3 separate regions of the Homo sapiens genome follow, and all the other regions are linked to region 2. Evidence: promoter capture Hi-C in 16 types of primary human blood cells and fetal thymus (Javierre and others, 2016). All regions are on one chromosome and are shown on one strand. The core of a region is centred on a gene start or on the middle of the fragment in contact, and the rest is flanking DNA. Distances in the headings are between cores, read along the strand shown.

Region 1 (3,812 bases), core at 125-2,624, 140 kb after region 2:
TCCTGAACACCAGAAGTGGTGGGCACCTGAGTGGGAAATTTCAGGCAACTTAATTTAGTTCCTCAGTGCCTACTCTTGAAGAACTGGGTTTTCATTCTAGAGAGGAAACTCAGGGAAGGGCGTGTTGCCTATCACAGGTTCGCATACTAAGTTTTAAAAACTTTTCTTGGTGTGACTTATGCCAAGGAATTATGAAGACTTTTTCCTTGAGCATTGCATGAAGGCTACAAAGTTGGAACAGGCATGTCCTGGGTGTGAAAGTTTTAATTTCCCTACCTCATTTATTTATTTAATTTAGAGATGGGGGTCTCACTATGTTGCCCATCCCGGCTTCCAACTCCTGGGCTCAAGCAATCCTCCCACGTCAGTCTCTCAAATAGCTGGGACTACAGGCCCACGCCACCATGCCCTACTTCCTCATTTATTTTAAATTTTTTGTACCACAGTCTCTCTTTTTAATTTTATGACTGCTGAATTAATCCTAGACTCTGTCTTAAAACTAAGAATTGATGTATTGGCAGGAACAGCTGGACATTCAAGATGTTTTTGTGATTCCTTTTTTAAAAATCTCCTTTTGTACCTGTAATATCTACAATATATAATCTTTCTTTATCGACTTAAGGAGGAAGGAGAAAGGAAGAACCTGACTTCTGTGTGAAGGACCTTACTGTCGATCAAGACTGTTACTCAAAGTTCTATCTCTTAGTCATTGCACCTGACCTGATCCAAAACATATATATATATTTGTATGCACCCCTAGAGACAGCTGTATATATATACGGTTTTGCCAGGTTGTACGTTTTTTTCTCGAGTTGTAAGTGAACACAGTAGCACTCGTTTACATTGTCAAGGGGACATCTTTAGAGAACACATTTTCTCACTGTTGAGCTAATAATGCTTTGTGAATGTATGATCTAAGGAGAAACCCTTGTAGTTATACCCGATGATGCTGTCTGTTGGAAAGTAAATTTTGAATGTCTTTTTCCAAAAATAAAAAATAAAAACATGCTTTCAATAAGTTCTTTCCCCCCTCTGGCGAGGGCTACTAAATTTGCTCAGCATTTAATACGTAAAATTGGCTAACAGTGTCTGCACAGCCAGAGAGAAGTTGTCTAGCAAATCGGGTCAATGACACACAGGAAACAAACATCAAGAAAGGGGTCCTAGATTGGTCCAGTCAGGTAGGCGTTAGGTGACCAAGGGGGTCGGGGACCCAGAGGATAGGACCCAAAGACGCAAGCGTCGCGCGCCCAAGGCTCAGCGCGCCTGCGCAGGGTAGCGGCCGTTCAGCCAGCGGCTCGGGGGCGGAAGCACTGGAGCCCCGAGTCACGTGGCTGCGGGCGGAGATGAGCGGGGCGTGGGACGTGCTGCGGCGTCCTAGCTGGCTTACAGGGCGGCGGCGGGGTGTGTGTCCTCTGTTAAGAGTGCTACTCGCCCGGGGTTGATCTGTGCATGCCACTCCTGGGTCAGACGGTGAGGTCGGCGTCTGCGAGGACGCGGCGGTGGAGTAGAAGGGCAGCCGGAGACAGGCCCGGCGCCCCTTCCGAGGCTAGACGGCCCCAGCTTCGCGGGGATCATGGCATTGCTGGTGGACCGAGTGCGGGGCCACTGGCGAATCGCCGCCGGGCTCCTGTTCAACCTGCTGGTGTCCATCTGCATTGTGTTCCTCAACAAATGGATTTATGTGTACCACGGCTTCCCCAACATGAGCCTGACCCTGGTGCACTTCGTGGTCACCTGGCTGGGCTTGTATATCTGCCAGAAGCTGGACATCTTTGCCCCCAAAAGTCTGCCGCCCTCCAGGCTCCTCCTCCTGGCCCTCAGCTTCTGTGGCTTTGTGGTCTTCACTAACCTTTCTCTGCAGAACAACACCATAGGCACCTATCAGCTGGCCAAGGCCATGACCACGCCGGTGATCATAGCCATCCAGACCTTCTGCTACCAGAAAACCTTCTCCACCAGAATCCAGCTCACGCTGGTGAGTAGCTTCAGCTTCCCAAGGCGCCGCTCTCCCGACCCACCTCCTGCACTGGCCCCGGGAAATTCGAACGCACACTGGTCTTTCCCTTCATCTTGAAATCCACAAATGAGTCATCTGTGGGCATGTGAACTTTTAGGCTTATTTTAGGGAGGGGGAAAAGGCCATCTTGTCAGCCCAGAAGAGTGGGCATGTGTGAATTTTAGTAGCTGCCATTTGATGGAAATCGTTAAATGCTGTGATCGATAAGAAAAAAAGCTGTATTGGGTGGTACAGTCCAGTGTTATCAGAATATCTGCAAAAGCTCAAACAAAAACAGCCTTTCTCCCCCAGGGGAATCAAATCGTGTATGATAAAACGTGAAAAGATGTAGCATAAAGTAGGTCTCAAAACGTCTGCAGCACCATACTTTAGAGCTGTCTGCATCTTTAAATAAAAGGAGGTGGACTCAATTTTAGCACTTAGTAACTTATTTAAGGTCTTTTTCTTTTTTTTTTTTTTCTTTTTGAGACGGAATTTCACTCTTGTTGCCCAGGCTGGAGTGCAATGGCACGATCTCGGCTCACCGCAACCTCCGCCTCCCGGGTTTAAGCGATTCTCCTGCCTCAGCCTCCCGAGTAGCTGGGATTACAGGCATGCGCCACCACGCCCGGCTAATTTTGTATTTTTAGTAAAGACGGGGTTTCTCCATGTTAATCAGGCTGGTCTCGAACTCTGACCTCAGGTGATCTGCCCGCCTTGGCCTCCGAAAGCGCTGGGGTTACAGTGGTGAGCCACCGTGCCTGGCCTTATATTTAAGGTCTTTATGCTTTTATTGTTTTATATTTATGCTTATGCTGTTTAGACACTAGTTTGGGGATCCATTTACTCACCTTTGTATTCATGTGGTATTTTCTTGCAAAGTGCAATATATTTACCACAAATTTAGAATGGAATTAAATGTGAATATCAATATAGATTTGTCATATTTCACGTTTAGGAAATAGGATTAACAACTAGTTTTCCCAAGTCAAAACAGAAAACATTTATACAGGTTCATTGTTTCCCAGTTATGTGTTTATCATTAGCCTTGTAAGACATTGTGAAAGGAATACTAAATTTTTGTCTCTTGAATTTAATCTGAACAACATTTACCTCTTTTTCGTTACAGATTCCTATAACTTTAGGTGTAATCCTAAATTCTTATTACGATGTGAAGTTTAATTTCCTTGGAATGGTGTTTGCTGCTCTTGGTGTTTTAGTTACATCCCTTTATCAAGTGGTTGGTAATTTTTTTTTCTTTATGTGCCTTTTTAGCAGATTTCATAAATTTTGAAGCTGTATTCCAAGGTTTAGAAAATACAGTATAGAGACAATAGACTGTTGGGAAGAAAGCATAATTGCATAAGTTGTCTGACTCAAGGTGAAGAGAAGAAAGGAGACAGAGAAACTTGGGTGTGTGATGCTCACCAAATACCTACCTGTTTGTAAGTGTATAATATCCATGCTTAACAGTCTCAGCTTGGGGTGAAGTTATTTTCTGGGAAATCTTTACAAAATACCTAGTAAGACTTTTTACTTCCTAAGTTTGTTATGTTTTCTGTTTACTCTTTACTTTTAACATTGTTGTGAAGGAGTGAGTATACTTCCAGAAATCTGAACAGTAATGAAAAATTTCAGATTTTTAGATGTTTTTGCCTCAAAAATTATACTGCTGTTACAACTTGTTTATTGGCTTTTAATAATGTGTCTAATATAGATTATTACAATATTATACTCTATATTAATAAATATAGAGTAATTTATATTAATGAATATTTTTCCATTTGTGCAAGCGCAGTGCCTTGCCTATAGC
Region 2 (3,751 bases), core at 951-3,450:
GCCCAAAGGACAAAGAGTTTTTCTAAAAAAAGAAAGAAAGAAAAAGCACAGTGTTCCCAGGTAACACTTCTGTGAGCTCAAAGTTTCAGACTTTCAGTTATCAAATTTTTATGCAATAACTGAAAAGTTAGTAAAGTCAAATTTATTTGTAATTCACTCATTCATTGAGAAGTTACAGTAATTCCAACGGACTGCTCTGAAATTTGCCTTTGAAACTTTTATTTAAAAAGGTTTTCTAAAGAATGGATGTTAAGTGTTCTCATAAAAAAATGCTAACTCAAGGCCAGGCGCGGTGGCTCACGCATGTAATCCCAGCACTTCGGGAGGCCCAGGCGGGCGGATCACCTGAGGTCGGGAGTTCCAGACCAGCCTGACCAACATGGAGAAACCCCGTCTCTACTAAAAATACAAAATTAGCCGGGCGTGGTGGCGCATGCCTGTAATCCCAGCTAGTCGGGAGGCTGAGGCAGGAGAATCGCTTGAACCCGAGGGTGGGAGGTGGGGGCGGAGGTTGCAGTGAGCCGAGATCACGCCATTGCCTTCCAGCCTGGGCAACAAGAGCGAAACTCTGTCTCAAAAAAGAAAAAAAAAATGCTAACTCAGCCGGCGCGGTGAGTCACGCCTGTAATCCCAGCACTTTGGGGGGCCCAGGCGAGCGCATCACCTGAGGTCAGGAATTCGAGACCAGCCTGGCCAACATGGCGAAATCCCCTTTCTACTAAAAATTAGCTGGGCGTGGTGGCACGCGCCCGTCATCCCAGCTACTCGGGAGGCTGAGACAGGAGAATCTCTTGAACCTGAGAAGCAGAAATTCCAGTGAGCCGAGATCATGCCACTGCACTCTAGCCTGGGTGACAGAGCAAGACTCTCAAAAAAAAAGGTAACTCTGTGAGGTAATGTAACAATGTATACATTACTTCAAACGATCATGTTGTATACACAATAAATGCAGACAATAAACAATTTTTAAAAAGATATTTTTCTAAGGAAATAGAAATTATCGAAATAGGTAATCTACTCAATTAACCTAAATTGTAAAACATTATAAAACACAGAGAACTGTTATAATTCATTCTCATCTATTCATTTAACTTAGGTTAGCTTAGTTTTCAATCACTACATATTCTTAAACGGAGTGAAATTAGTCACATTCCATTTATCTTCCAAATTTATCAACGTTTATTAAGATTTATTTCAAGAATAATTTGTACAGGGCCTAATTAAATTATGAACCAAGAAAGTTAGTCTTAAATGACCCCTCAATCCCTTTTCCCTGCACTTTGCTCTCTTAATCTCCTCGCCCATCAAAACTGCTTCAAGAAAAAGTTCTGATAAATTTCTTGTACTAAGGGTAAGTAAGAATGGTAAATTCCCGTGTTAAGTTCCCGCCCTTTTTGGAACGAGGCATTTTGGAACAGAAAGTGTTTTCTGGTGCCCTGAAGTCACACGATAAACCTACTTGCCTATGGGTAATCCTGTGAAGTGAATAAAGCGTCCAGGACATGCATTTAAATACGCAATTTATTTTAGTTATATAAATGGCGTTGGTTTAGGTGCAGGGTACAAACTTATTTAGAAATCATCGATTTGTTAACTGCGTTTGGCATGGGAATTTGGAAAGAGTTCGCCCGGGTTAAGACACCAATGGATAAAACACTTGTCAATCCAGGAGAAAAGGCATCTCAAGAATGGAAAGACTTGCTGGCCCAGGCTCCCTCGGGGAGCTCTAGGTGTAGAAAATGCGCGCTCTCCGTTACTTCTCGGTTACTTTGCCCAGCACAAAGGACGACGCGAATACCAACAGACTGGACGAGTCGGTGACTACAGTTTGCATTAAGAGGCGGCGCCTTTTGGGTTTCGGAGGGTTCCACTGGAACCCACGAGGGTCAGGAACACCGACGCGCGGATTCCGCCCACCAGACAGCCTGGGGAAGCGAGCCTGAAGGCGCGGCGCAGCTAGAGAGAAGAACCTCGGCAGACATGCCGCCCAGAGGCAGCTAAGGGGCCCGTGGGCAGGGCCTGCGCTCCGGCTGCGATGCAGGCCGGCTAGAGGCCGGCGCCGAGGACCCGGCGCGCGGCGGCCCCGCCCCCTCGGCTCCCCTCGCCCCGCCCCCTAGGCCCGCCCCTTCCCGGGCCGCGCACCCGCGCGCCCCGCCCGCGGGCGGAAGCTGGAGCGAGGCTGAACGCCTGACGTCAAGGCGACATCGCCAAACCTCGCCCAGATTCAGGCGTGTAAACCAGCCGGAGCGGCGCGGCAGCGGCAGGACCGCCGTGGCGCCTAGAGTAGCGACCCGGGGGGAGCGCGGGGCGACGCTGGCTGCAGGGACCCGGTGACAGCGTGAGAGGTTCGCAGAGTGAGTGCGTGGCCGCTGAGGGAAGCCGCGGCGGCGGCCGCGCGGGGCCGGGCGCCGGCTGAGGGGAGCGGGTGGGGTGCGGCGAGGCGCGGGCCGGGCGCGGCGGTCAGGGGCCCCGGCGGCGGCAGCCCCTCGGCGCGCGGCAGGTGGCGCGAGGGCCAGGCGCCGGGCCCGCGAGCGCGCTGCCTTGCGGGCCGGCGAGGAGGAGCAGCCGCCGCCGCCGCGGGAGAACAGCGCGCTTTGCGGAAGGGGTCAAATGTCTGAAATATGGCGGAGGAAGTGAGAGCCCGAGGACCCCCCCACCCGCCCGCTCTCTTCAGCCCGCGTCCGCCGCAGCTTCTCCCGCCGCCCTCCTTTCCCCGCCGGCTCCCCCGAAGACTCGCTCCCCGCCCCGAGCCCCCTCGCTTGTCGCCTGGGTTCCCTCCGTGGTATGGGTGGAAGTTAGAACGGAAACCAGAAAGTTGTCCTTTGCGAAGACCTAGCTTCTCCCAGCCCCGAGCTAGGGCGAGGAGCCTTCGGGGGAAACCACTCCCAGGCGCCCCGCGGGCTTGAGCCTGACAGCGAAAAAGTTTGCCTGAAACGGGGCTTGCTTGCTCCATTTGTTGCGGGAAGTGGCAGGAGGAAGGCAGCGGAGAGAGCCCCACTTAGTCTGGCAGCAGCCACCGTGTAGAGAAAAACTGTTAAAGGGGCCTTTCCCTTCGTCAGCAAGAGGAAATCTCTTTCTCTTAGAGGGAGAGAAAATCCAGGAAGTTTGTCCTCTTCTCTTTTTCGCCATCTCGAGGTGTCTAATCCTAAAACTATCAGCGCCATGAATTTTATTTAAAACTACGCCCAGTGAACCGGGCTCTCCGGATTTTTCTTCTGAAAAACACTGATGTCTTTTGGAGAAAAGATCATTTTTGCAAGTTAAAGCAGATGGTTTCCTTCCCCTTCGCTTTCCCCCCTCTCCCACTCTCTTTAATAGTTTAGAAAAACATTTTGGCCCTGTAACTTCTGATTGGTATGAATAGAAGCAGTTCTGTGTTGCAGTAAGGGGAAATCACATTTTTACGGGGTAGAAAGTTGACACTAAATGAAGATTGTGATTTTAGTATTTTAAAATTAATTCCGTCTAATTGGATTTTGGTTTTGCAGGCAGCATCTCATATATGTCGAGTACTTAACAATTTAAAGCTCTGACTTGTAAATTTATTTTTCAGCTCTCTTTTTTCGTAATTAGAATACTGTTTGGACTTGCTCAACAAGACCTTATCTTAACAAAAAGTAACTTATAGAAAAGGGAGACATTCATTTAACTTCAAGCCCATATTATTCTTAAAAGCTGACTCTTGAAATAGTATTTATTGAGTCATAGTGGAGTCATGGGACTTTTTAAGGGCCGGAAGGGACTATTTAGA
Region 3 (3,723 bases), core at 1,014-3,513, 160 kb before region 2:
TGCTTCATTATTTCACTTATTAAGTTGGCTTCTCCCTCAAGGTACTTTAGAACTTTGGTACCCAACAGCAGCTCTGGGATCATGAGCTTATCAGAAATGCAGACACTCTGGTCCCATCCTAGCCCCCCCTCGAATCAGAATCTGCATTTTAACAAGATTTCTAGGAGATGTGTAAGCACATTAAGGTTTGAGAAGCACTGTTTTGGGACACACCTTGATTCTCTTTTTTTTTTTTTTTTTTTTAGTTTTGGTTTCTTTTTTTAGACTTAGGGAATACAAGTACAGTTTTGTTACATGGATATATTGTGTAGTGGTGAAGTCTGGGCTCTTTGTGTACCCATCACCCAAATACTGTACATTGCACCCAACAGGTAATTTCTCATCCCTCATCCCCACTCCCACCCCACCCTCTTATCTTTTGGAGTTTCCAATATCTATTATTCCACTCTGTATGTTCATTACACCTTGATTTTTACACTGTTACTGTTAGTCTAGTAAGTTCTCTCACTCCGCAAAGATCATGTCTTGCCATGGGGGACACTTTTCTAGAGGATAGTAATTATGAGCTGATGCTTTTGGGCACTAACCATGTGCCAGGAGTGGAGAGGGCACATAGTTAACATGAGAAAGATTTACTCAGTTAGTAAAAGGTGGAGGCAAGTTGGAACTCAATCTGGCATCTGGGTCCATGTTTTCCAGGTGCTGCTTCCCTTATTGGGCCCCTGCAGGGTGCAGAACGGTCCTACTTTCTGCAAGGTGTTTGACGTCCCTGTCTACCACACACTATAACTGCATGATACCTTCAGAATCCTGACAACCTAAGGACTGCCCCCACATTTCCAGACACCCATGTGAGTGGTGCTGATCACACTAAGAACCACAGTGTCTTGTGTTCATGCAGTAATTTTGAGAAATTAGTTTCCTGTGATTTGTTTCTTTCTTCCAGTGTTTAACCAAATAATAAAAATCCTTTAACGTTTTACATGTTATTTTTCACTTCAATAGAAGGCTATCACTATTGAGGGCCTGCTCTATGCAGACTAAAAGATAAGTAAGCTCCTTGCCTCTAGCCACTGACAATCTGGTTAGAGAAATAAGGCCTTAGTAGATGCAATAGCTAAGAAACAATTCAAGACACTATAAGATTAAGTCCAGAAATGACCAGAAAGACCTAGATTTATATTCTGGCTTTGTGCCACTTACTAGTGTGAGCCCAGTGACATTCTGTAAGCCTCTCTTTCCCTACCTGTAAAACGGGGGTATCATTAAACAATGCACATAAATTGCCACCACAGTATGTAAAGCATGAGATATACTTAATAAATGTTAGCCATATCCACCAATCACCACCCTCTCTGAATCAGGAAGAAATAGGACAAAAATGGGATACAGAGAGGATGTGCGTAAGAGAATAGACAGCATTCTGGGCAGGAGGCACAGCCAAGCAAAAGCGTGGTGTCAGGAATGTGCATGCCTGCGGCAGAAACTTACAGACTCTCAGACTGGATGAAGTGAAGGGTTCCAGTCAAGGAGTTATGAGAAGTGAACACATTAAAGTAAAGATAAGTTTACATTTGTTATGTGGACATGGAATCTCCTGGGGATTTTTGAATTTCTTCAGTATCACGACTTTCAAATACAGAAGAAATGCAAACCTACACAAAAGAAAATGAAGGAGTCTTCTAGCCATTCCCCCAGGGCTTCCCACACCAATGAGCGCGGATGCATCTATTACCAATCAATGTCTTTAAGAAGCCTGAAGAAATAAATGCATGGCACTGCTGTGGGACATATTTTTAATTCTTCTTTAAGTTCAAACCTGCCATCTAATTTATTTTCACTTTCAGTAAATGCCTTTTAAGCTTCTCAGACTTGAGCTAAGTCACATAGCTGATAAATAAATAGGATAAACCTACAGGAATATACTTGGTTCTTCAATCTTATGAAGTCTGAAAAATTGTATAAAGTCGACAACTTCAGCACTAATGGACCTAAAATGGCCAAGAAGCTATTGCTACTACTGTGTTACAATCGCTTTTGCTGGAGCATTCTTGTTTCTGCTGCTCATTAGGAAAAGTACTATCACACCCAGCAGAAAAGAATAATTGGCAAATCAACTAATTAAGGCAATATCGACACTCCTCTTGTCACCCAGTCACTTCTTTGTTGTAAATAAGCTTACTTGCTTACATTAAAGTCATTAGCTCTTCATATGTAAATAATAATGCACTTGAATTTAAACTGATTAGATATCTGAAAACAAACTTCAGTCCACTCTAATCTGGCCAGGATAGGGAAAACAAAGAGCATTATTGTCTTACTTAACCTGGTAAATTCAACACAACTGTATGAAGCTTCCGAATTCATTAATATCCAAATTCACCTTCCCTCCTGGACATTAGCCGGAATTCTATCTTTAGTTGTAAGACACACTATACTAAACAAATACTATAGTAATTAAAGAAACCACCCATTTCCTTCCCCCTAAGTTCCAGGAAGCCATGTTATTTCTGCAAACCAATTTCTATTTGCTGACTATTCTCCAGGGCTTTTAAAAGCAAATAAAATGTACCGGAAACTGTTTTCCAAATGACAACAAAGAATACATCTCCTACTCTCTCTTCTCCCCCAACAGGAAAAAACAAACAAACAAAAAAAGTGTGTGTTTGTGTGAATTTAAGGCATATACATTTAGGGTCTTGTTAAATCCTGAAAGATTGAAAGCCCCACAGTGTCCTGAAAGGAAATGTTTGAAGAAACTTCTCAAGTCTCTAAAGTTAGCTGGATCCTTTGCGACACTCACCTCTCATTTTGGCTCCTATAATTACCCCCTTTAACTTAATGCTGTTTATTTTTATATCTCTTCCCATCTTTCCTCATACCACTTTGTTTACAGCTGGTTAAAAAAAAAAGTTTATATTCACATATGTTCAATTCTGTCTTCATTTTCACTTCTCAGTTTCCCCTGCCCCATTTACCCTAGTGGGTTTGTTTGTTGGTTTTTTGTTTTAACTTCTTTATCATTGTCATTCTTCAGTCTAAACAGGATGAATTATTGATATAATCCCCAGCAAACAACTTCTTAACCACTTCCCACTCCTGAACCTTTAGTTTTTATTAAAGCACAAAGATTTATGTCAACCAAGAGTCCCATATAGTTCATTTCATCATGGGAGGAAGGGGGTTGGGAGAGGGGAGGAAATGAGACTTATTTTCATCCTGTTTGGATCCAAGACAAAGATCTTATGTCATCCAAAAGGGAGCCAAGACAAGACAGAGCCCCATGGTAATTGCCCACACTCTAACCTTTCTTGTCTCCCTTCTTGTCCCTCACAAATACCTCCCAGCAGGCCAGATTATTTTGTTAGAGAAGCTCCAAGCTGCCTACAACCCTGTAACAGGATAAAAGCTCTAGCAAGGTTTATGCAATGGACACTTATTTCCCTCACATCTCCCCTTCCTGCTCCTCAGATGATACCCTTCACTTCCTGTCCAGGTCAGGTTCCTGTACCGGAGGGCCACCCCAGGGTGCACTTCCTGCCTTCTAGCTGGTTTCATTGTCTGTGCCCTTAAAGCCCAGTCTTCCCCACGGGCTCCTGTGCTTTTCCACCCATCACATCATTCTGTTTACCTCTTGTTTGCTTTTTACTCCTTCCAAACTATCTCCTAGACCTGGAGTTCTCTCCCAGCTCTTTGCCTACATACCAATCTCAGCCTTTCTTA

The links. Contacts are between HindIII fragments. The CHiCAGO score rates a contact against its expected background, and 5 or more counts as called.
Region 1: a contact is called between the fragment with the promoter of SLC35E3 here and the fragment with the promoter of RAP1B in region 2, in 1 of 17 cell types (neutrophils). The highest score is 6.6, in neutrophils.
Region 3: a contact is called between a fragment that was not itself captured here and the fragment with the promoter of RAP1B in region 2, in 1 of 17 cell types (non-activated CD4 T cells). The highest score is 5.3, in non-activated CD4 T cells.

The regions. Positions count from the first base shown.
Region 1 is chr12:68,744,802-68,748,613 of GRCh38, forward strand. SLC35E3 (solute carrier family 35 member E3) reads left to right here and starts at 1,375. Exons shown (of 5, transcript NM_018656.5): 1 at 1,375-1,978; 2 at 3,129-3,239. The coding sequence starts at 1,577. It overlaps NUP107 (nucleoporin 107), which reads left to right. Exons shown (of 28, transcript NM_020401.4): 28 at 1-1,008. RefSeq lists enhancers at 1,048-1,738, 1,588-1,687, 1,738-1,847, 2,208-2,397. The HindIII fragment of the contact is 13,773 bases long and covers 1-3,812 here.
Region 2 is chr12:68,608,699-68,612,449 of GRCh38, forward strand. RAP1B (RAP1B, member of RAS oncogene family) reads left to right here and starts at 2,201. Exons shown (of 8, transcript NM_001010942.3): 1 at 2,201-2,345. RefSeq lists a silencer at 2,058-2,517. The HindIII fragment of the contact is 9,459 bases long and covers 1-3,751 here.
Region 3 is chr12:68,452,642-68,456,364 of GRCh38, forward strand. No RefSeq gene overlaps it. Among named protein-coding and RNA genes, the nearest start is that of LINC02384, 3.0 kb to the left of the region's middle. The HindIII fragment of the contact is 177 bases long and covers 2,176-2,352 here.